7 separate regions of the Homo sapiens genome follow, and all the other regions are linked to region 7. The links are contacts of gene promoters, found by promoter capture Hi-C in blood cells and fetal thymus (Javierre and others, 2016). All regions are on one chromosome and are shown on one strand. The core of a region is centred on a gene start or on the middle of the fragment in contact, and the rest is flanking DNA. Distances in the headings are between cores, read along the strand shown. Region 1 overlaps FCHSD2 (FCH and double SH3 domains 2). Region 2 overlaps FCHSD2 (FCH and double SH3 domains 2). Region 3 overlaps FCHSD2 (FCH and double SH3 domains 2). Region 4 overlaps FCHSD2 (FCH and double SH3 domains 2). Region 5 overlaps FCHSD2 (FCH and double SH3 domains 2). Region 6 overlaps FCHSD2 (FCH and double SH3 domains 2). Region 7 holds the start of FCHSD2 (FCH and double SH3 domains 2).

Region 1 (2,753 bases), core at 251-2,750, 190 kb after region 7:
ACTATAGGCCAGGCATGGTGGCTCATATCTGTAACCCCAGCACTTTGAGAGGCCGAGGCCGGTAGATCACTTGAGGTCAGGAGTTTGAGACCAGCCTGGCCAACATGGTGAAACCTTGTCTCTACTAAAAATATAAAAATTAGCTGGGCGTGGTGACACATGCCTGTAATCCCAGCTACTCAGGAGGCTGAGGCAGGAGAATCACTTGAACCCGGGAGGCGGAAGTTGCAGTGAGCCGAAATAGTGCCACTGCACTCCACACTAGGTCACAGAGTGAGACCCTGTCTCAAAAAAAAAAAAAGATAGTCAAACTTGGTGAACACAAGCAAACAAAAAAGTGTATGGAATTGTTTTTGCTCTAAAAATACTAGAGACTAATACTAGATTAGTGTTTTCCTTCATAGGCCATATATATCTTTCTGGTATTAAGATAGAGAAGAGAGAGTTGCTTCATCTGAGTGACCAAGCAAGACCAATATAAGTTAAAGTACACAGGGAGTTTCCAAGCATTAAACTCATGGGTGCTCTTCCTGTCTAATCTTGTCTTCATTTGGTAAGACATATGCAGACCTACCATGAAGCTTCAGGGAATTTTTGATTCTTGCCAAAAATAAAAATGCCCTGAAGTGTGCCTGTTGAAAATGCCAACAATATGTAGATTCTGAAAGTTATCTTGTAAGTGAAAGAAAGAGTATAGCTGTTACAGTATTCTTGTCAAATAGGATTTTCCCTAAGTTTTATGGGAGTAAGGACTTTCTCTGCTATACTGAACGCTAGCCTCATTTCCTCAGCAAGCATGATTGATCTCAGTTAGATATTAAGAATTTATAAAGAGATTGTGAAAGGGTAAACCTCAAATCAATGGGAAAATAACAGATTTTAAAAGTCATGACATTGAGACTCTTAGGAAGAAAAATTTTGTTTCTTCCATCAAACCAGGCCAAAGTAAGTTATAGGTTTGTTAAAGATAAATGTAATAGAGAAAAACATGGGAGAATATTTATCTGATCTTAGTGTAGGGGTGAGATTTTTAAGGATTCTAGCAAAGGCAAGCACTATATGGGAAAATGGTGATAAATTTTACAATCCCACAGTTCAGAAATGTGTAATAATAACACCAGAGCAAACATTTATTGAGCTAAATGCCAAGCCTTGTAGTAAGTGCTTTACGTATAAGTCAGTGCCAAGGTTGAGAAACTCTGCCCTAGAGCTGCGTAATCTGTCGCTCTCGTTTGCTGTGTTATCATATGCCAGATGTTTTGTCATAGTGTAACAAGGTTTACCAGCTTCCCAATCTGCAGCATCTGTTTCATCACTGCTTACAACTCTGCCACTTAACAGATGCCACCTATATTAGTTTTTTTGTTACAGCAATATCCTACACCAGATACTAATCCTGTATTAATTAGGATAAAGGCTAAACAATTAGAATAGGAAGACCCAAAATGCAGTGGTTCACAAAAGATAGGTGTTAATTATTTCTAATGCAATGGTTTGGAGTAGATAGGTAGCATTTGCCTCATGAAGTTATTCAGAGACTCAGATAGCAGGGTAGTCCATCACTTTCTCTCATGGCCTGGCTAAACCTGTGTCATTGATTTATTTGAGTTCTAGCCAGTGGATAGGGGAAAGAGAGCATGGAGAAGACACACCTATTCTCTTAAGATCTAGTCCTTAAAGGAGCAAATGTTACTTCTGTTCACACTGAATTAGAGAGAATTAGTCACGTGGTCAATCTCACAGCAGGTATGGAGGCTAGGAAGTGTAGTCCCACAGCATGTGCCCAGGAAGAAAGGGATAACATTTGGCGGACAACAACAAATAGTTTCCACCGCAACTACTACCTGTGCTGCCTCTAAATATCTGAGAAGCCAAATGATAATGTGGGAGTTAAGTATTCTTATAAATGAAAAATTAAAATATCCTAAAAGAAATAAGGAAAAACTACAAATTCAGTTTTAAAAAGGGAAATACAAAAGACTACTAATCATACATCAGTAGCTGATTGTCAACAAAGGTACTAAAACAATTCAGTGGAGGAAAGAATAGTCTTTCAACAAATTGTACTGGCACAACTGAATATCCACATGCAAGAAGAATGAAGTTGGACCTCTACCTCACAGCATATATAAAAATTAATTCAAAATGAATCAAAGACTTAAGAGCTAAAACTATATAAAACTCTTTGAGGGAAAAAAAAAATGCAAGTCTATGTTAACTTAGAATAGGCAACAGTTTCTCAGATATCACCAAAAACACAAGCAACCAAAGAAAGAATAGACAAATTGCAGAAATAAAAACTTTTGTGTATCAAAGGAATCTATGGAGAAAGTGAAGACAACCCACAGAATGGGAGAAAATATTTGCAAATTACATATCTGAAAAGGATTTAATATTTAGAATATATAAAGAAGCTTTACAATTCAATAAAAACAAATAACCCAGTTTTTTTAAAAGGGCAAGGATTTTAATAGACTTTTTTCTCAAAGATGAGTAATACCTTTATTCATTAGGAATATGCAAATCAAAATCACAATGAAATACCACTTCACATCCGCTAGGATGACTAAAATTTTTAAAAACAGAAAATAACAAGTGTTGGTGAGGAGATGGAGAAATTGGGTGAGAATGTAAAATGGAACAGCCATTGTGGAAAAACAGTGATGTGAACATTAGCATTTGGTGGTTTCTCAAACTATCCAACAGAATTGTCATATGACCCCAAAACTCCACTCTTAGATTTATACCCAAGA
Region 2 (2,775 bases), core at 94-2,593, 210 kb after region 7:
GAAATTACATCAAATGCTTAGGAAAATGACCCATTTTCCCTCCTAATTCATCATAATCTTCTTCTTCAAACAAGTTCTAGGACATTTACACTTTCCTGTAAGTAAATGTTCAGTGGAGCATTCCAGATTTCTAAGTTTCTGAATTTGTCCTTAGAATATTCCTTTTTTTTTCTTCACTATTTTGAGTATTTAACATTATGAGTTTGGGAGTTTAGGTTCCAAACTCAACTGATTTTAAGGATCAAGTAGATAAAATGAATAAAGAGGGCAGAGGTAATGTGTAAGGGAGTGTGTGGCCTAATAGCTACCTGGAAAGGACGTGGCTGCTTAAAGGCATTCAAATTCAATTGTTTAAAAATATTGTGGAGTCATTAAAACATATTGCTGGTCAAAGGTCCCATGGTTTCTCAGTTTCTCAATTACTACAGAATTATTCCCTTAGAAATTTGTGTCCAATAGTCAAAAAGTTTGGCTATTTTTTTAAGTATATTTGGATAAATTACCTACCAAGTTTTTGCATATTGGAGACCACCAAGGAGTTCATACTGCCAGATTAACTCACATTTATATAAACCTTGAAAGAATGCTTATCCTGCCATTTCTGAGCATTTATAAGTGAATTCTATCATTGATTAAGAAATTTATGGCCAAGCACAGCAGCTCATGCCTGTGATCCCAGCACTTTGGGAGGCCGAGGCAAGTGGATTACCTGAGGTCAGGAGTTTGAGATCAGCCTGGCCAACATAGTGAAACCTTGTCTCTACTTTAATAAATACAAAAATTACCCGGGTATGGTGGTATGCACCTGTAATCCCAGCTACTCGGGAGGCTGAGCCAGAAGAATCTCTTGAACCCAGGAGGTGGAGGTTGCAGTGAGCCGAGATAGTGCCGCTGCACACCAGCCTGGGCAACAGAGTAAGACTCCGTCTCAAAAAAAAAAAAAAAAAGGCATGGCTCTTCATAGAGGTCTCTTTGAATTGAAGTTTGTGCATGTCTGTTCACTTAAACAAGTGTAAAGAACATTCTTGTGTTTTGCTCATTTAAATGTAAAATGCTAGACAAGATACAGATGCATCTTCATCATACGTGCCCTTCTCAAACTGTTATGATACTTTTATGATTTGTTGTAAGCTTTAAATAGCTCTTTTTTTTTTTTTTTTTTTTTTTTCTGAGACAGTGTCTTACTCTGTTGCCCAGGCTGGAGTGTAGTGGCGCGATCATGGCTCACTGCAGCCTCAACCTCCCAGGCTCAGGCAGCCCTCCTACCTCAGCCTCCTGAATAGCTGGGACTACAGCCACATACCACCACACCTGGCTAATTTTTGTATTCTTTGTAGAGATGGAGTCTTGCTGTGTTGCCCAAGTTAGTCTTGAACTCCTGGGCTCAAGTGATACGCCCACCTAAGCCTCCAAAAGTGTTGAAATTGCAGGCATGAGCCACTGTACCCAGCACTAAATAGTTTTTACTTTACTTTAAATTTGTAAGAAATATATGCAGCTTTTGGATTGTATTTGCAATTCAGCTTTGACATAAAAATTGTCTACTTTAAGCTTTGAGATCTGTTTAATTGAAGAGAACCAGGAATAGTAAGGAAAGCAATTGAATTATTATTACTTGCAATTTATTGTCCATGTGAATCAACTTTTTTTCCTTACAATGCAACCAAAAGACACAATTTGGATATGGCTAATATAAGTTGGGTATCATTTATTACTCTTTAGTAAGAAGTCTTTTGATTGCAAATAACAATGACCCAACTCAAAGTAGCTTAGGCAAAACAGAGGAATTTGTTGGCTAAGGTAACCAAATCACAGAAAGGATGAGATGGTGCTTGCTCAAGAACTACCCAATTCAAGGACACTGTCCCTGTCCTCTGCCCACCATTCCCATCTTCACTTTGCCAAATTTCTCATCACTGCTTTTCTCTGTGAGTTGGTTTAATTCTTTCCTACTACAGATAGGCACTATCTGCTTGGTAGGAAGAATAACTTTGGTGGGAAGGATAGGCCATTTTTGGATTAATCTTTCAGCCTCTATCCCAGGGATGACCTAATTTAAGTCAAGGGACCACCTCCACCCAGTAATTAGGGGCAGAGGACAGTGGTTTGAGGTTCTGTCTTGCATATCTGCCTACCCTGCAAGTTTACCCCTGAGATCAGGACAGCAGGATCTGTTGCTAGAAGGAAGAAGAAGGCATGCAAGGTTATATATATTTTATGTCTTGGAATTCCACATAAAAGGATGCCACTACTGAAAATATTTGAAAATTACTGAATTAGAGTTTTATGAAATCAATTACTCCTTTAACTTGTATACGATTTTATAAATGTTATGTAACATCATTAGATTTCTCAGTCATGGGGCTCAAGTATAGGTTTATTCATTTTTTGTAATCATGCGAATTCTGATTGGTGTTATTATTTGTTGAACAGATATTTATTGAGCACTACCAGTATGCCAAACCCTATGCTCAACACAGAAGATGGAATGGTAAACAGACAGACCTGATGCCTCCCTTTATGGAACTTAAACAAAAAGAGGGACATACAAACAAATATCACCAGTATGAGGTTGTATGCTATGATCAGGAGTTATGAAGCAAAAAGACAATAGAGATATCCAAGTAGATGATTAAGTGAAGAGACTAAGGCTGATAAGAGTGAGCCAAACCATGGGAGAGAAAGCAGAGAGTAGTCAAGGCAGAAGAAAAGCCTGTGTGAAAGCTCAGAGGCAAAAAAGGAGTATTGGAGAAGCCAAAAACTGCATTGTAGAGA
Region 3 (2,790 bases), core at 112-2,611, 150 kb after region 7:
TGCATCGATGTTCATCAGGGATATTGGTCTAAAATTCTCTTTTTTTGTTGTGTCACTGCCAGGCTTTGGTATCAGGATGATGCTGGCCTCATAAAATGAGTTAGGGAGGATTCCCTCTTTTTCTATTGATTGGAATAGTTTCAGAAGGAATGGTACCAGCTCCTCCTTGTACCTCTGGTAGAATTCGGCTGTGAATCCATCTGGTCCTGGACTGTTTTTGGTTGGTAAGCTATTAATTGTTGCCTCAATTTCAGGGCCTGTTATTGGTCTATTCAGAGATTCAACTTCTTCCTGGTTTAGTCTTGGGAGGGTGTATGTGTCGAGGAATTTATCAGTTTCTTCTAGATTTTCTAGTTTATTTGCGTAGAGGTGTTTATAGTATTCTCTGATGGTAGTTTGTATTTCTGTGGGATTGGTGGTGATATCCCCTTTATCATTTTTTATTGCGTCTGTTTGATTCTTCTCTCTTTTCTTCTTTATTAGTCTTGCTAGTAGTCTATCAATTTTGTTGATCTTTTCAAAAAAACCAGCTCCTGGATTCATTGATTTTTGTGAAGGGTTTTTTTGTGTCTCTATTTCGTTCAGTTCTGTTCTGGTCTTAGTTATTTCTTGCCTTCTGCTAGCTTTTGAATGTGTTTGCTCTTGCTTCTCTAGTTCTTTGCCTTGTCATGTTAGGTTGTCAATTTTAGATCTTTCCTGCTTTCTCTTGTGGGCATTTAGTGCTATAAATTTCCCTGTACACACTGCTTTGAATGTGTCCCAGAGATTCTGGTATGTTGTGTCTTTGTTCTCATTGGTTTCAAAGAAAACATCTTTATTTCTGCCTTCATTTCATTATGTACCCAGTAGTCATTCAGGAGCAGGTTGTTCAGTTTGCATGTAGTTGAGTGGTTTTGAGTGAGTTTCTTAATCCTGAGTTCTAGTTTGATTGCACTGTGGTCTGAGAGACAGTTTTGTTGTAATTTCTGTTCTTCTGCATTTGCTGAGGAGTGCTTTACTTCCAACTATGTGGTCAGTTTTGGAATAAGTGCAGTGTGGTGCTGAGAAGAATGTATATTCTGTTGATTTGGGGTGGAGGGTTCCTATCAGATATTTATAGTTAATTTTTAGTTTATCCCAAATTGATGCAGTTTGCCTACCAGGGTTTGTAAGCAATGTTGCCTAATAACACAGCTGACATTGTGTCTTCTCATCAGGTTTCTATTGAAACACAGATCTAGAAAGTTAAGCAAAGGCCCAGTTTCGTGCAGAGGGGAAAAGTTTTGTTTTATTTTGTGTTTTTTTAACCTTTTCCTTCACAGCCTAACACTTATTAAGTGCTTAATAAATATGAGTGGTTATTTTGCTTTTATCTGTCCATGCAGAATCTTCTAGATGTCTCATCCCCTGTAGTCCTTTCTTAACACCTAACAGCTTCTGGGAAAGTCTAGCCTGTATGTCATATGGTTAAGTTTATTCTTGTTTTATCCTCATTCTTCTGATGTCCTTGCCCTCCTCCACACTATTCACCCTTGCACAATAGTCCTTCACCAGTGTCTCCTCCTGCTTTGCTGAGCTTTTGCCAGTCTCCACCAGTGCTATTTCAGGCTTAGAAGTTTTTAGATGTAACTGCTCTAAGCTGGTCTCAGGCTGGTGAAACTTCTAATTGGTTTGTTTCAAAGTGGGGTCAATCTCCTTTGGATACTCAGAAAGGTCCTGAGGCAGTGTTGCTTGGCCCCGGTGTGTTATAAGAGTTAATTGATTAAACATTGTTTTAGTTGTTATGTCCATCCCTTCTCCTCGAATGTATATGTGTATCCACGGAGTTGGGCAGGGGATGGTTTTGAGTAATAATTGTTATGTGGTACCCAGGTTTCGTGCTTCTCTTGTTCACCTTGGACTTACCAAGTCAGACTACTCAGATTTCACTCCCTCTTGTCTAAGGGGTGAATTCTTCAGTACCCTTTGCACTGTCGGTTACCCAAACATAAAGAGAGACTTTGTTAAGATTATGGGGAAATACAGAATTGCCTTATTCTTTTGATTTTATTATCATGATATCTCCAACAGTGAGAACATTTTTCATAGTTGCTCTTCCATGTCTTACCTTAACGTCAGTCATCAGCAGCACTCGGGTTATTTCTCAATGTATGGTTGTTAGGCAAACTGTGACACTGTTTGATGTGTAGTACTTGAGATGGAAATACCAGGATTTTAATTCACAGGATTTTAATCTGCAATTTGAAGGACACTGAACGTACTGACTTTTCCCCTGGATTTCCATCCTGAAGGCATAGTGTATAGTCCTTAGGATGAAGTCATTTTCTGTAAGCCTGAAAACTAAAATCATAATGATTGTACTTTTGTATTTTACAGTGTGTGGACCAGTTGACAAAGATCCAAACTGAATTACAAGAGACAGTGAAAGATTTAGCTAAAGGCAAAAAGAAATACTTTGAGACTGAACAGATGGCTCATGCAGTACGAGAGAAAGCTGACATCGAGGCAAAGTATGTGTTTTAACATTTCTGAGAAAATTATTATGCAAATAAATGTTATTGTTGCTAATAGTTTGTTCTCTATTAGTAGTGAGCATGGACCCATTCTCAGGTAGTGGTGGTTTCATTTGACCTACATGTGTTATATACTTTAGGTCACATTTTTTTAATTGGCTGATTTTTATCTGAATTAATATAGCAAAATGGGAATATTAGATTAGTCAGTTTTTCACATTAAATTGAATTTTGAAAAAGAAGGTAAATGAACATTGTATTTACAGACTTGAAAGCTTATCAAAAGCCTGAAGTCACT
Region 4 (2,853 bases), core at 66-2,565, 220 kb after region 7:
GCTATGCTGCTGAAAGCAACCTAAAGGGAAGTTTGACACTTTTTAGATTTTTTTTATTTTATATTATTATTACCATGTTCAAAATGTGACATATCCCCAAAGATATTTTGGTGGTAATTCATCCAACATACTGTAAATGTTAAAGTGCTTCCTATATCATTCATCCCCTAAATGGAAACAGATGGCCCTAGGAGCTTTTGTTAAACTTTAATTATTTATGAAGCTTGCTTTTCTTCTTAATATTTTATGAAATGCTTTGTATATGTAACTGAAGCAGATGTTGTCATAGGTATTTTCTCTAGGATAGTAACTCTGAAGGTAGCTCTACTGGCCTTTATAATTTGTTTGTGTGTGCTTGCTTTTTGTCTCCATAAGGAAATGCCTTCCAATTAATAACAAAGTTCATTTAAGAATTCAGAAAAATAAATTTAAAAAAAGAATTCAGAAAATAACAATGTTATTCTACATTTATTTGAAAATTAATTTGTCTAGTGTTACTGTTCTTAATACTTCGAAGTCTAACCAAAAAAAGTAGATAAAAGGAAGGAAAAAACTTCATGATCATTTCAATAGACACAGAAAAAGATTTGACAAAATTCAGTACTTTTTTGTGATAAACACTCAGCAAACTAGAATAGAAGGGAACTTACATAACATGATAGCATCAACCAATGTCATATTCAATAATGAAAGACTGAAATCTTCCTCTGCTAACATCAGGAACAAAACAAGGATACCCATTTTCACCACCGCTATTAACCATTGTACTGGAAGTCCTAGACAGGGCAATTCGGTAAGAAAAAGAAATAAAAGGCAGCCAAATTGAAAAAGAAGAATTAAAATTACCTCTCTTTGCAGATGACATGATTATATTTATAAACTCTCAGAGAGCCCATTAAAAAAACTAATAGAGCTAATAAATTTAGCAACATATAAGATAAAAACACAAAAATCAGTTGCATCTCTATATTCCATCAATGAATGATCCAAAAAGAAGGTTAAGAAAATAATTCCAACTACAATAATACTCAGAGAATAAACTATCTAGGAATAAACTTAACCAAAGGAGTTAAAGGCCTGTACACTGAAAACTATAAAACATTGCTGAAAGAAATAAAAGATATAAATAAATGCATATAATAAATGTTCATGGATTGGGAGATTTCATGTTGCTAATATTGTAATATTCCCCAAAGTGATCTACAGATTCAATGTAGTCCCTATCAAAATTCCAATGGCCTTTTTTGCAGAAATGGAAAAGCCGGTCCTCAATTTTTTTTTTTTTTTAATTTGAGACAAGGTCTCACTCTGTCACCCAGGCTAGAGTGCAATGGCATGAGCTCAGCTCACTGCAACCTCCACCTCCCAGGTTCAAGCGATTCTCCTGCCTCAGCATCCCAAGTAGCTAGAATTACAGGCATATGCCACCACGCCTGGCTAATTTGTTTGTATTTTTAGTCAAGACGGGGTTTCGTCATGTTAGCCAGGCTAGTCTTGAACTCCTGACGTCAAGTGATCCGCCTGCCTTGGCCTCCCAAAGTGCTGGGATTACAGGCGTCAGCCACTGCACTCGGCCCAGTCTTCGAATTAATATGGAACTACAAGGGACCATGAATAGTTTAAACAATATTGAAAAGGAAAAATAAAGTTGGAGGACTCACACTTCCCAATTTCATAACTTACTATAAAGTTACAGTAGTAAAGATAGCGTGGTATGGACATAAGTATAGACATATAGACCAATGAAACAGAATTGAGAGTTCAGAAATAAACCTGAACATCTATGGTCAATTGATTTGCAACAAAGGTGCCATGACTATTCAATAGAGAAAGAATATTCTCTTCAGAAAAAGGTTTTGGGACAGCTGGATAGCCACATGCAAAAGAATGAAGTTCAAGCCAGGTGTGATGGCTCACGCCTGTAATCCCAACACTTTGAGAGGCCGAGATGGGTGGATCATGAGATCAGGAGTTCAAGACCAGCCTGGCCAATATGGTGAAACCTCATCTCTACTAAAAATACAAAAATTGGCTGGGCGTGGTGGTGGGTGCCTGTAGTCCCAGCTGCTTGGGAGGCTGAGGCAGGAGAATCGCTTGAACCCGAAAGGTGGAGGTTGCAGTGAGCTGAGATCGTACCACTGCACTCCAGCCTGGGCGACAGAGCAACACTCTGCTTCAAAAAAAAAAAAAAAAAAAAAAAAAAAAAAAAAAGAATGAAGTTCAATGAAGTTGTGAACCCTTACCTCACAAAATTAACTCAAAATTGATCAATGACCTAACTTATAAGAGAAAACAGAGATAGATCTTTATGACCTTGATTTGGCAGTGCATTCTCAGATTTGACGTTGAAAGCACAAGTAACGAAAGAAAACATAGATAATTAGACTGTATCAAATTAAAAGCTTTTGTGCATCAAAGGACATTATTAAGAATGTGAAATCAACCCAAATGATGAGAGAAAATATTTGCACATCACATATCTGATAAAAGTTTCATATTCAGAATATACAAAGAACTCTTACAACTCAACATCAGAGACAACCCAATATAAAAGTGAACAAAGGAGGCTGGGCACAGTGGCTCACGCTTGTAATCCCAATACTTTGGAAGGCCAAGGTGGGGGAATTGCTTGAGCTGAGGAGTTCAAGAGCAGCCTAGGCAACATAGCAAGACCCTATCTCTACAAAAAAATTTTTTAAATTAGCCAGACATGGTGCTGCATACCTGTTGTCCCAACTACTCGGGAGGCCCAAGTGGGAGGATTACTTGAGCCCAGGAATTGGAAGCTGCAGCAGGCTATGATCATGCTACTACTGTACTGTAGCCTGGGTGACAGAGCAAGACCCTGTCTCT
Region 5 (2,939 bases), core at 243-2,742, 250 kb after region 7:
TAACTAGATCTTTGCATAGACGCATTAGTTATGTGCTGACAATAGGAGCCTGAAAGTTCCCCTATCTAGCTTGTGATTATAGCTCTTAAAGCAAGATCTCTGTGAGAGCTACCAAAATAAAGGCATACTCTTTATAAGGCTGTTCCATCTAACCATGCCTCTAGGTATGTTCTCAAAAGTGTTAGACGCAAGGTTTTTATGCCATTTTTGTTTTACTTTCATGTCATTACTCAGGGACATATTTTTTGCTAAGGTTTGCCTTTGGTACTCTTAATCCAAGACAAAAGAATAGCTCCTTTCAGAGTTCTCATCATTTCTTCACCCCAGCCTTAATGGGTATATTCCTTTTCCCCAGGTGTCCAGAGTTTTCCAGAATTGTCCCAAGGCTCAGTCCACACCAGTTCTTCTCCAGTGTGCTCTCCTGAGAGGCCAGGCACACTCAACAATTATCTAGATGAGTTCCCACTTCTTTCCAAGTGAAGGTTCTGCTATCCTAGCATAGTCAGAATAAGTTAAATTATGTCTCTTAAGAGGCACTGTTCCACTCCTCTTCAAGGTGTGTGGCATATTTGAAATATGTGACTTAAAAGTCTACAGTCTCTTACCAAAAGCCTTGGGCCAAATACATGTCAAAATTCAGAATTTTCCAGATTTTAGAAAAGTGACCCATATACCATACATTGCATAAAACCCTGAGCAATGTATGGGGAAGCACCTGTGACCAAACATAGTATTTTTGCAGTGAAACATATGAATATTTTCATTCATATATGTATATATGAAAGAAAAAACTATAAATAACCTCTTATTAGTTCAAATCACATTTTGGCTCAAGTGAGTTTTGGCTCCAAACTTACCAAAAAATACTTATTCTTTTTCAGAGCATTTTGAATTTCAGAATTGTGGGATTGTGAACCTGTACAAACGTGTAGTTGGAATACAGAGATCCAGATGCTTTTTACTTGAAGAAGTCCTTTTGAGGATAAATAATTAATAACTTTATTGAAATAATTAACCATATATTAATATACTTCATAAAGAATAAGATGGATCCAATATTTAACTCAATATATTAATATATATTTTTTGAGAAGCTCTGTCACCCAGGCTGGAGGGCACAATCATAGCTCCTGGCAGCCTTGATCTCTTGGGCTCAAACAATCCTCCTGCCTCAGCCTCCCATAGATAGGACTACAGGTATGTGCTAATTTTTTTTAAGAGCTGGGGTCTAGCTATGTTGCCCAGGCTGGTCTCAAACTCCTGGCCTCAAGCAGTTTTTCTGCCTTGGCCTACCAGAACACTGGGATTGTAAGTGTGAGCTACTGTGCCCAGCCCCAGTATATTTCTTGTCTCTCAGTAAACTGAAAAATGTAAGTAGTACAAATTCCCTGAATGAGGGTTAACTAGAATGTTATGCCATTGGCCTAACAACCCCAACACTATCTTTTTTTGAAATGGTTTGGAATGCTAGTATTTTACTGTTAGTGATTTTCATTCATCATACATGACCATCTCTTTTTCTCTCCTTGAAATGGTTATATTTTAGTTACAGAGTTAAAAAACTGATTGTTTTCTTCTGCGAAGTCAGCTTTTCTATCGCTGCTCACTCTGCTCAGATATCTGAGCCTTCTATGCCTTTGTATTAACCTTAAAATAAAACAAAATCATATCTTGAGAGAGCATCTAAGGACAAAATAGTTAAGATGACTTAAAGACTAATATATCAAGAATATTGGAATGCTGATTTCCTTAATTTAGTTCTTCAAAGTTATTTAATAACTTTATGAATGTTGAAAAGACTTTATTGTAATATTTTATTCTAAAGGGACTAGAGTTTTTTTTTTTTTTGGAGACAGAGTCTCCCTCTGTAGCCTAGGCTGGAGTGCAGTGCCACGATCTTGGCTCACTGCAACCTCCGGCGCCACCACGCCTAGCTAATTTTTGTATCAAATACATTTTTAAAAGATAAAGGAAAAATATTGGGCTGGGCATAGTGGCTCATGCCTCTAATCCCAGCACTTTGGGAGGTCAAGGCAGGAGGATCATTTGAGGCCAGGAGTTTGAGATGGCCTAGGCAACATAGTGAGATCTCATCTCTACTAAAAATCAAAAAAATTATCTGCGTGTGATGGCATATGCTGTGGTCTCAGCTACTTGGGATGCTGAGGTGGGAGGATTGCTTGAGCTTGGGAGGTCAAGGCTGCAGTGAGCCATGATTGCACCACCGCACTCCAGCCTGGGCAATAGAGTGAGAACCTGTCTTCCAAAAAGAAAAATGTTAAAAGAATGATCTAGGCCAGGCGTGGAGGCTCATGCTTGTAATCCCAGCACTTTGGGAGGCCAAGAACAGGTGGATCACTTGAGGACAGGAGTTCGAGACCAGCCTGGCCAACATAGCAAAACCCCCATCTCTACTAAAAATACAAAAAGTTAACTGGGCATGGTGGTACATGCCCTGTAATCCCAGTTACTCCGGAGGCTGAGGAATGAGAATCTCTTGAACCCGAGAGGCAGAGGTTGCAGTGAGCTAAAATCATGCCACTGCACTCCAGTCTGGGTGACAGAGTGAAACTCTGTCTCAAAAAATTAAAAATAAAAATAAATTTGCCAGCATTTTAAAAAGAAGCAGTCATTACGGTTTCTTTGTTAGAATCGACCACTGCTAATATCACTGTCTTAAAAAAAAAATTACCAGCCACGCACGGTGGCTCACACCTGTAATCCAAGCACTTTGGGAGGCCGAGGCGGGTGGATCACGAGGTCAAGAGATCGAGACCATCCTGGCCAACATGGTGAAACCCCGTCTCTACTAAAAATACAAAAAATTAGTTGGGCATGGTGGCACATGCCTGTAGTCCCAGCTACCTGGGAGGCTGAGGCAGGAGGATCACTTGAACCCAGGAGGTGGAGGTTGCACTGAGCTGAGATCATGCCACTGC
Region 6 (2,981 bases), core at 427-2,926, 130 kb after region 7:
GCCTGCCCCTGCCTACCATGGCTGGCACCTGCACATATTGTTGAGAGCCTGAGGGCAAGCCACCCCAGCCTGACTTCATATCCCTACTCCATGCCAGAGCACACAGGCTAGGGTCCAGGAGATTGCCCAGCACATTCTACCACCATTGGCACCTGAATACTCCTCTAGGGGGCCTGAGGTTGGTTCTACCCACCCCTGCCACTACAATCACAGCTGACACCTACCTGCACATGGCACCTGCAGGCTTGGAGACTGAGCTGCCCACCCCCTCACAGCCACCACCAACACCAGCATACACTGCTCAAGACCCAGAAGATTATCCCATCACTGCCACTGCTGTTTTATGCCAGCTGCCCAGAGGCCCAAGAATCTGCCCACCCACCCAGCTCACTGCTGCCACTACCAGCATCTGAGTAAGCCACCTGAAGGCCAAGAATTGGCCCACCTGGACTACTAGTGCCAACTCACCACTGCCTCTACTGGGGCTCAAAGACTGGCCTACCTGGTGCCCCAGTCCTCAGCAAAACTTTACCACAGGCCCCACTAATAACTGCACCTGAAACCACTGAATAAATTACAAACACCACTGACACTGTTCATAGCCAAAGAAATCGTACAGATACCGTACCACTGCAAGCACCCAGAATCAAGGCCAAAGGGCCCTACCAAACAACACCATAGATCTATCTTCAGGAAAACATTCCCTACAGAAGCAAATTCAAAAAACTGGAAGAAGTGACTATCACATCAGATGTGCAGTTATCAATGTAGGAAACATGAAAAAGCAAGGAAATATAACTCCAAAGGAATAACATAATTCTCTAGTAACAGATCCCAATAAAAAACAAATTTACAAAATCCTGGAAAAAGAATTCAAAATGTTGATATTAAAGAAGCTCAATGAGATACAAGAAAATTCTGAAAAACAGTACAGAGAAATCAGAAAAACAATTCAGGATATGAATGAGAAATTTACCAAAGAGAGATATAAAAAAGAACCAAACAGAAATTCTGTAATGGAAGAATTCATTGAATGAAATACAAAATACATTTGAAAGCTTCAACAATAGACTAGATCAAGCAAAAGAGAAGATCTCAAAACTTGAAGACAGGTCCTATGAAATAACCCAAGCAGTCAAAAAGAAGAAAAATAAGAAAGAATTAACAAAGCCTTTGTGATATATGGGACAACATAAAGTGACCAAATACACATATTATTGGTTTCCCAGATGGCAAAGAGGGAAGGGAAGGTTAGAAAAATCTATTTGATGAAATAATAGACAAAAACTTCCCAAGTCTAACGAGATTTAGACATCCAGATACTGGAGGCTCTGAGACCCCCCCAGGCAGATGAAATGCAAAAAGGCATTCTCCATGGTACATTATAGTCAAACTATCTAACATCAAAGACAAAGAGAGAATTCAAAAAACAGCAAGAAAAAAAGCATGCAGTAACCTGTCAAGGAACTGCTATGAGACTACTAGCAGATTTCTCAGCAGAAACCTTTACAGGCCAAGAGAGAATGGTATGATATATTCAAAGTACTGAAAGAAAAAAAAAACTACCAACCAAGGGTACTGTATTCAGCAAAATTATCCTTCATAAATGAAGGAGAAGTAAATTCTTTCCCAGACAAGCAAAAGGTTAGGGAATTCATCACTACTAGACTGGCCCTAAAATATTAATATTGGAAGTTGTTCCCCATAAACTGTATAAATATATTTAATTTTTTCTAGTATGACTTTGTTTTTTGAGACACTTCTCACTCCATCACCCAGGCTGGAGTGTGGTGGCATGATCTTGGCTCACTGCAACCTCCACCTCCCAGGTTCAAGTGATTCTCATGCCTCAGCCTCCCGAGCAACTGGGATTACAGGTGTACGCCACCACACCTGGCTAATTTTTGTATTTTTAGTAGAGATGGAGTTTCACCATGTTGGCCAGGCTGGTCTCAAACTCTTTGATCTCAAGTGATCAGCCCACCTCAGCCTCCCAAACTGCTGGGATTACAGGCGTGAGCCACCACACCCAGCCTGTAGTATGATTTTAAATTGTCCCTTTGTTTTTATTTTTTACCAACAGTGCATGTAATCAGTCTTTTAAATTGTTTGCCTATCTGATGATACATGCAGCATTTAATGTCATTAAAACCTCAATTTGCATTAGACTTTTGTAACACTACTTTCTCTTGGACCTTTTTTTTTTTTAAATTTGAGAACAGGTTTTCATTCCTTTCTATGTAAATGCTTCTCAAAAATCCCTCAGCTCTCTAATGACTTTTAAGTAAGCTTATTTATATTCTTGTCTTTAAATCTTGACTATGAACTGGTAATAATAATATATTTTTATTAACTTTTCAACTTGGGAAACAAAAAGCTGCCTCTAATTTTACCTTCTTTGTAGATCTCTTCATATCTGAAATGTTAAGTAGCTGCTTGTTTGCATGTGATTTCTTTCACAATTCCATCTGCTATAATGACACAAACTATATCTTTATATCTTTGTAAAACAGGCCTACTGTCACTCCCCTGCTTGAAAATCTTCTATTGTTTTTCCTTGCCGATGGGATAAATTTAAATTTCTTTTCATGATATTCAAAACCATGAAGAAACCTGGCACCAAATTATCTCTCTACTTACCTCTGGCCATTTCTGCTTTCATCCTTGGTTTTCCAACCTTTGGGCACCTCAGTTGCAGTTGTGTTTCAGTTCTTATCAACACCTCCACTGGACTGAAAGCAGTCTTTTTCCTTGTCTTTATTTCTGTTACCCAGGCTTAGGATATTCTCCCTTTCTACTACCAATAACAACCATGTATGAACATTTATTAAAACACCATTCTTCTTGTTACTAGTTATTATATAAATTATTCTTAGGTTATGAACTTAATCACATTTTCTTTTCTTTGTTTTGAGACAGTCTCGGTCTGTCGCCCAGGCTGGAGTGCAGTGGTACAGTCTTGGCCCACTGCAATGTCTGCC
Region 7 (3,038 bases), core at 447-2,946:
ACCCCGCAGCTGTCAGGGCCCTGGGCCTCCATCCACCTGTCCCCTTGCCCCAGGCCTTCCCTGATTTGATTAAGGATTCTGGTGAAGGGCTAACTTTTGAAGCCAGAAAAAGCAAGACTAGTCTCCTAGTTCATACACAGCTCTAGATTAATCTTATTCAAAACACAGCTCTGTCACTTTTCTGTACAAGAATCTAGTCTAACTCAATGTAAACAACCTGGGTTGAAGTTCCACCTTTTCAATTTCTGGTCATGTGGTCATCTGGGAAGTTACTCGTCTATCCAGGCCTCATTCACCTTCCTCTTAGGCCTGACTGCACTTCTGAGAACAGCTGTCTGGGATCTCAACTTCTGAAAAAACGGTGGAGTAATCCAGCTCAGCCTCCACACAGCCCCGTGACTCAAAAAAAAAAAAAAAACCTCCCTGGGCATGGGGAAGAGGTATTCCTCTTCTGAGGACCCCAAGGGAGGTCGATAAACTCCCCCGTAGATGGTCTGAACAGAGCAGGAAGGTTCATGTGTGGTGGTGGGGTGCACTGCTTAGATAAGCACCCTCACTGGCAGATAAGGAAGCCGAGCTCACCTAGCCTGTTAAGGAGCAGGCAAAGTGGACTGGCACCCAGAGATCCTGACTCCCAGACAAGGGCTTCCTCTATGGCCTCTCCTGCCTCTTCTACTTTTCCTCGTGCTTATTATCCTGCACCTGTTTCTTTTTTAAAATAACCCATAGAACACTTCCTGACGCAGATTCTAGTCCTGCTGTGTAACCTTTAGAAAGGCTTCCCTCTATGGGCACTTGCCTCCCCGTCTGTGAAACGGGGGCCTCGGCCTTAACGTTCTCTTGGCTCCCTCTCAGCGGAGTCAGTGATGTTTGACTTGAATGCCCTGCAGTAGAGTGCCGCCGTTTCCTTTGCAGAGCAACTGCCTTTCCGCCCTACAATCGCAATGGCCTGGCACCTGCGGCCAGCCGCAAAGCGACTTGTCCTTGCTCGCCTCTCTCGCGCACATCTAGCTGGTAGGGAGAGTAGGGTGTTGAGGGGCTGAGAGGAAGAAAACGCCGGAATTCTCGTATCCCACAGGCATGCTGCGCCCCCCTCCCCACTGCAAACGTTTCCCTGCGAGCGTCGTCCCCCGCGCCCCCCGACACACACACACACACACACACACACACACACACACACACACACACACACACACACACACGCAAAGGCAGGCAGGAGGCGGGGGCGGCCTGTGCGCGTGCGTCGGCGCGGAGCCCTCTCCCGCCCACGTGCGCGCCCCCGAGCGGAGACGCGCGCGCCGGGGCGAGCTGGCGGGAAAGCGCGCGGGAAGCCCCCGGCTGGCTCCCAGCGTGGGGGAGGGAGGGCAGGAGGCGTCTGGAACGTGCCACTCTCGGAGAGAAAGGGGGGATTTTCGCGTGGCGCTGGCGTTTCTACACCTCCCACCCACCGACCAATCCGTTAGCTTCCCCCTTCCCCTGCCGCGGTACGAAGCCCCGTGCCGTGGCCTAGCTCCCTCCTGGCAGCCCGGACCGGCCCCTCGAACCCCGCTCTGGACAGAGCGGTTCCCTCAGCATCCGGAGCGGGGCGCTGCGCCGCGCGGCGAGGCCGGAAATTCCCGCGGCCTGAGTGGTGGAGCCCTAGCGGGGAGAGCGGCGCCACCTTCCTCCTCCCGGGCGGGCGGGGGCGTTAGGCCCAGCGAGGGCCGGGCCGCCTGAGTGGGTGGGGTGGGGGCCGCTGCGTCCGCCGGGAGCGGCGGCGCAGGCGGCCGACCGGGAGCGCGGACAACGCGGCTGCGGCTAACCCGCCGCCCGGCCGGCTGAGACCCTCGCGCCCCTGCTCCTGGGGCCCCCGCCCCCTCGCCGTCTCCGCCTCCTTCCTCACACACCCCCGGGCCGCCCGGGCCGCCCGGGCCCCAAGCCTTCCCGGTGCTCCTCCCTCGTCTCCTCACACTCGCTCTCTGGCTGGGGTCCGCCTGCCGCCCGCTGGCCTGCTCCCTCCGGGGCAAGTCTTGCTTCTTAAGCGCTCCTTTCACACACGCGCGCGCTCGCTGGGCCGTCCCCTCCTCTCCGGCCCTCCTCCTCCTCCTGGTCCTTGCTAACGCTGCCGTCGGGGAGGATTGATGTCCCTTCAGCATCATGCAGCCGCCGCCGAGGAAGGTAAGGGCGCAGCTGGGGGGCTTTGGGGTTCGGAGAGATGCGTACGCGGAACGCGGCTGGGGCGACCGCTGCGCCCCTTCCCCCTCCCGCAAGGGGCCGTGACCGCCCTCGTCTTGGGCTTGTCACCGACTTGCCGCCGGCTCCAGGTGGGGGGCGCGCGTGTGAGTTGCCTTTCCGACAGAGGGGCCGCCGGGGCTCGTCCGTCCTCTAACGCAGGAGACCCCCAGACATTTCACAAGAGTTTCGGGTGTGCATTTGTGTGTGTGCGCGCGCATGGCAATGCTGCCCGCTGCAAAGTGCATTCTCGGGGCTGCACCGAGGGGGAGGCGGGGACGCCCCTGCAGCTTTGCAGAGCCTTGTGCGTGTGTGATTGTTTAGTCTGCACCAGCTTTGAGCCCTCCAGCCGCTTGTCGCCAGCCCCGCCCGTTTGCAAATTTGCGGGGGATTTGTTTCTAGCCTAGCCTTAGGGTTTGGCCTGCTTTTCCCACGGGGCGGCCGAAAAGAAGTTGGAATAGTCACCGCCTCCCCACCCCAAGGGAAAACAAATTAAGGATTGACGGGTCCTGCCTCGTCCCCGGCTGAGGGGCGAGGAGGCTGTCGTGCTGTCTTCAGAAAAGCGAGGACCGGGCCCGGGAGGTGCGTGGGGTGTGCACTGCGATCCGGGGTTGGATGACCAGGGTGGGAGTGACGGATGCACCCGGCTTGTCATCAGTCTCCCCGCTGCGCCCTTCCCCAGCTTTCCCAGGGGCCGAGGCTGTGTCCTTGTCTTTTTAATCCTACAGATGGATACTGAATGTCTACTCTGGGCACTGGGTGGATGAGGCCGTTCTGTCCTCCCCTCGTGGGCAAACATTTGCCTAACGCCTAACTCACCCGTGTCT

The links. The method cuts DNA at HindIII sites, captures the fragments that hold promoters and counts their contacts. A CHiCAGO score of 5 or more calls a contact.
Region 1: a fragment that was not itself captured here is called in contact with the fragment with the promoter of FCHSD2 in region 7 in 14 of 17 cell types (naive B cells, total B cells, M1 macrophages and 11 more); the score reaches 20.3 in naive B cells.
Region 2: a contact is called between a fragment that was not itself captured here and the fragment with the promoter of FCHSD2 in region 7, in 8 of 17 cell types (M2 macrophages, M0 macrophages, naive B cells and 5 more). The highest score is 8.3, in M2 macrophages.
Region 3: a contact is called between a fragment that was not itself captured here and the fragment with the promoter of FCHSD2 in region 7, in 1 of 17 cell types (naive B cells). The highest score is 5.5, in naive B cells.
Region 4: a contact is called between a fragment that was not itself captured here and the fragment with the promoter of FCHSD2 in region 7, in 16 of 17 cell types (total B cells, naive B cells, M0 macrophages and 13 more). The highest score is 16.5, in total B cells.
Region 5: a contact is called between a fragment that was not itself captured here and the fragment with the promoter of FCHSD2 in region 7, in 11 of 17 cell types (naive B cells, M2 macrophages, total B cells and 8 more). The highest score is 12.2, in naive B cells.
Region 6: a contact is called between a fragment that was not itself captured here and the fragment with the promoter of FCHSD2 in region 7, in 7 of 17 cell types (naive B cells, total B cells, M2 macrophages and 4 more). The highest score is 13.2, in naive B cells.

Annotation. Positions count from the first base shown.
Region 1 is chr11:72,949,878-72,952,630 of GRCh38, reverse strand. All of the region lies in intron 8 of FCHSD2 (FCH and double SH3 domains 2), which reads left to right. Among named protein-coding and RNA genes, the nearest start is that of ATG16L2, 140 kb to the right of the region's middle. The HindIII fragment of the contact is 1,833 bases long and covers 584-2,416 here.
Region 2 is chr11:72,932,504-72,935,278 of GRCh38, reverse strand. The region is part of intron 8 of FCHSD2 (FCH and double SH3 domains 2); the gene reads left to right. Among named protein-coding and RNA genes, the nearest start is that of ATG16L2, 120 kb to the right of the region's middle. The HindIII fragment of the contact is 420 bases long and covers 1,134-1,553 here.
Region 3 is chr11:72,988,663-72,991,452 of GRCh38, reverse strand. It overlaps FCHSD2 (FCH and double SH3 domains 2), which reads left to right. Exons shown (of 20, transcript NM_014824.3): 6 at 2,356-2,489. Among named protein-coding and RNA genes, the nearest start is that of FCHSD2, 150 kb to the left of the region's middle. The HindIII fragment of the contact is 2,817 bases long and covers 1-2,769 here.
Region 4 is chr11:72,916,327-72,919,179 of GRCh38, reverse strand. The region is part of intron 9 of FCHSD2 (FCH and double SH3 domains 2); the gene reads left to right. Among named protein-coding and RNA genes, the nearest start is that of ATG16L2, 100 kb to the right of the region's middle. The HindIII fragment of the contact is 2,179 bases long and covers 226-2,404 here.
Region 5 is chr11:72,892,658-72,895,596 of GRCh38, reverse strand. All of the region lies in intron 10 of FCHSD2 (FCH and double SH3 domains 2), which reads left to right. Among named protein-coding and RNA genes, the nearest start is that of ATG16L2, 80 kb to the right of the region's middle. The HindIII fragment of the contact is 7,920 bases long and covers 1-2,939 here.
Region 6 is chr11:73,008,268-73,011,248 of GRCh38, reverse strand. All of the region lies in intron 4 of FCHSD2 (FCH and double SH3 domains 2), which reads left to right. Among named protein-coding and RNA genes, the nearest start is that of FCHSD2, 130 kb to the left of the region's middle. The HindIII fragment of the contact is 1,231 bases long and covers 1,061-2,291 here.
Region 7 is chr11:73,140,976-73,144,013 of GRCh38, reverse strand. FCHSD2 (FCH and double SH3 domains 2) reads left to right here and starts at 1,696. Exons shown (of 20, transcript NM_014824.3): 1 at 1,696-2,157. The coding sequence starts at 2,137. RefSeq lists enhancers at 548-687, 768-877, 2,748-2,977, 2,477-3,038 and silencers at 1,108-1,487, 1,648-2,027, 2,428-2,567. The HindIII fragment of the contact is 9,673 bases long and covers 1-3,038 here.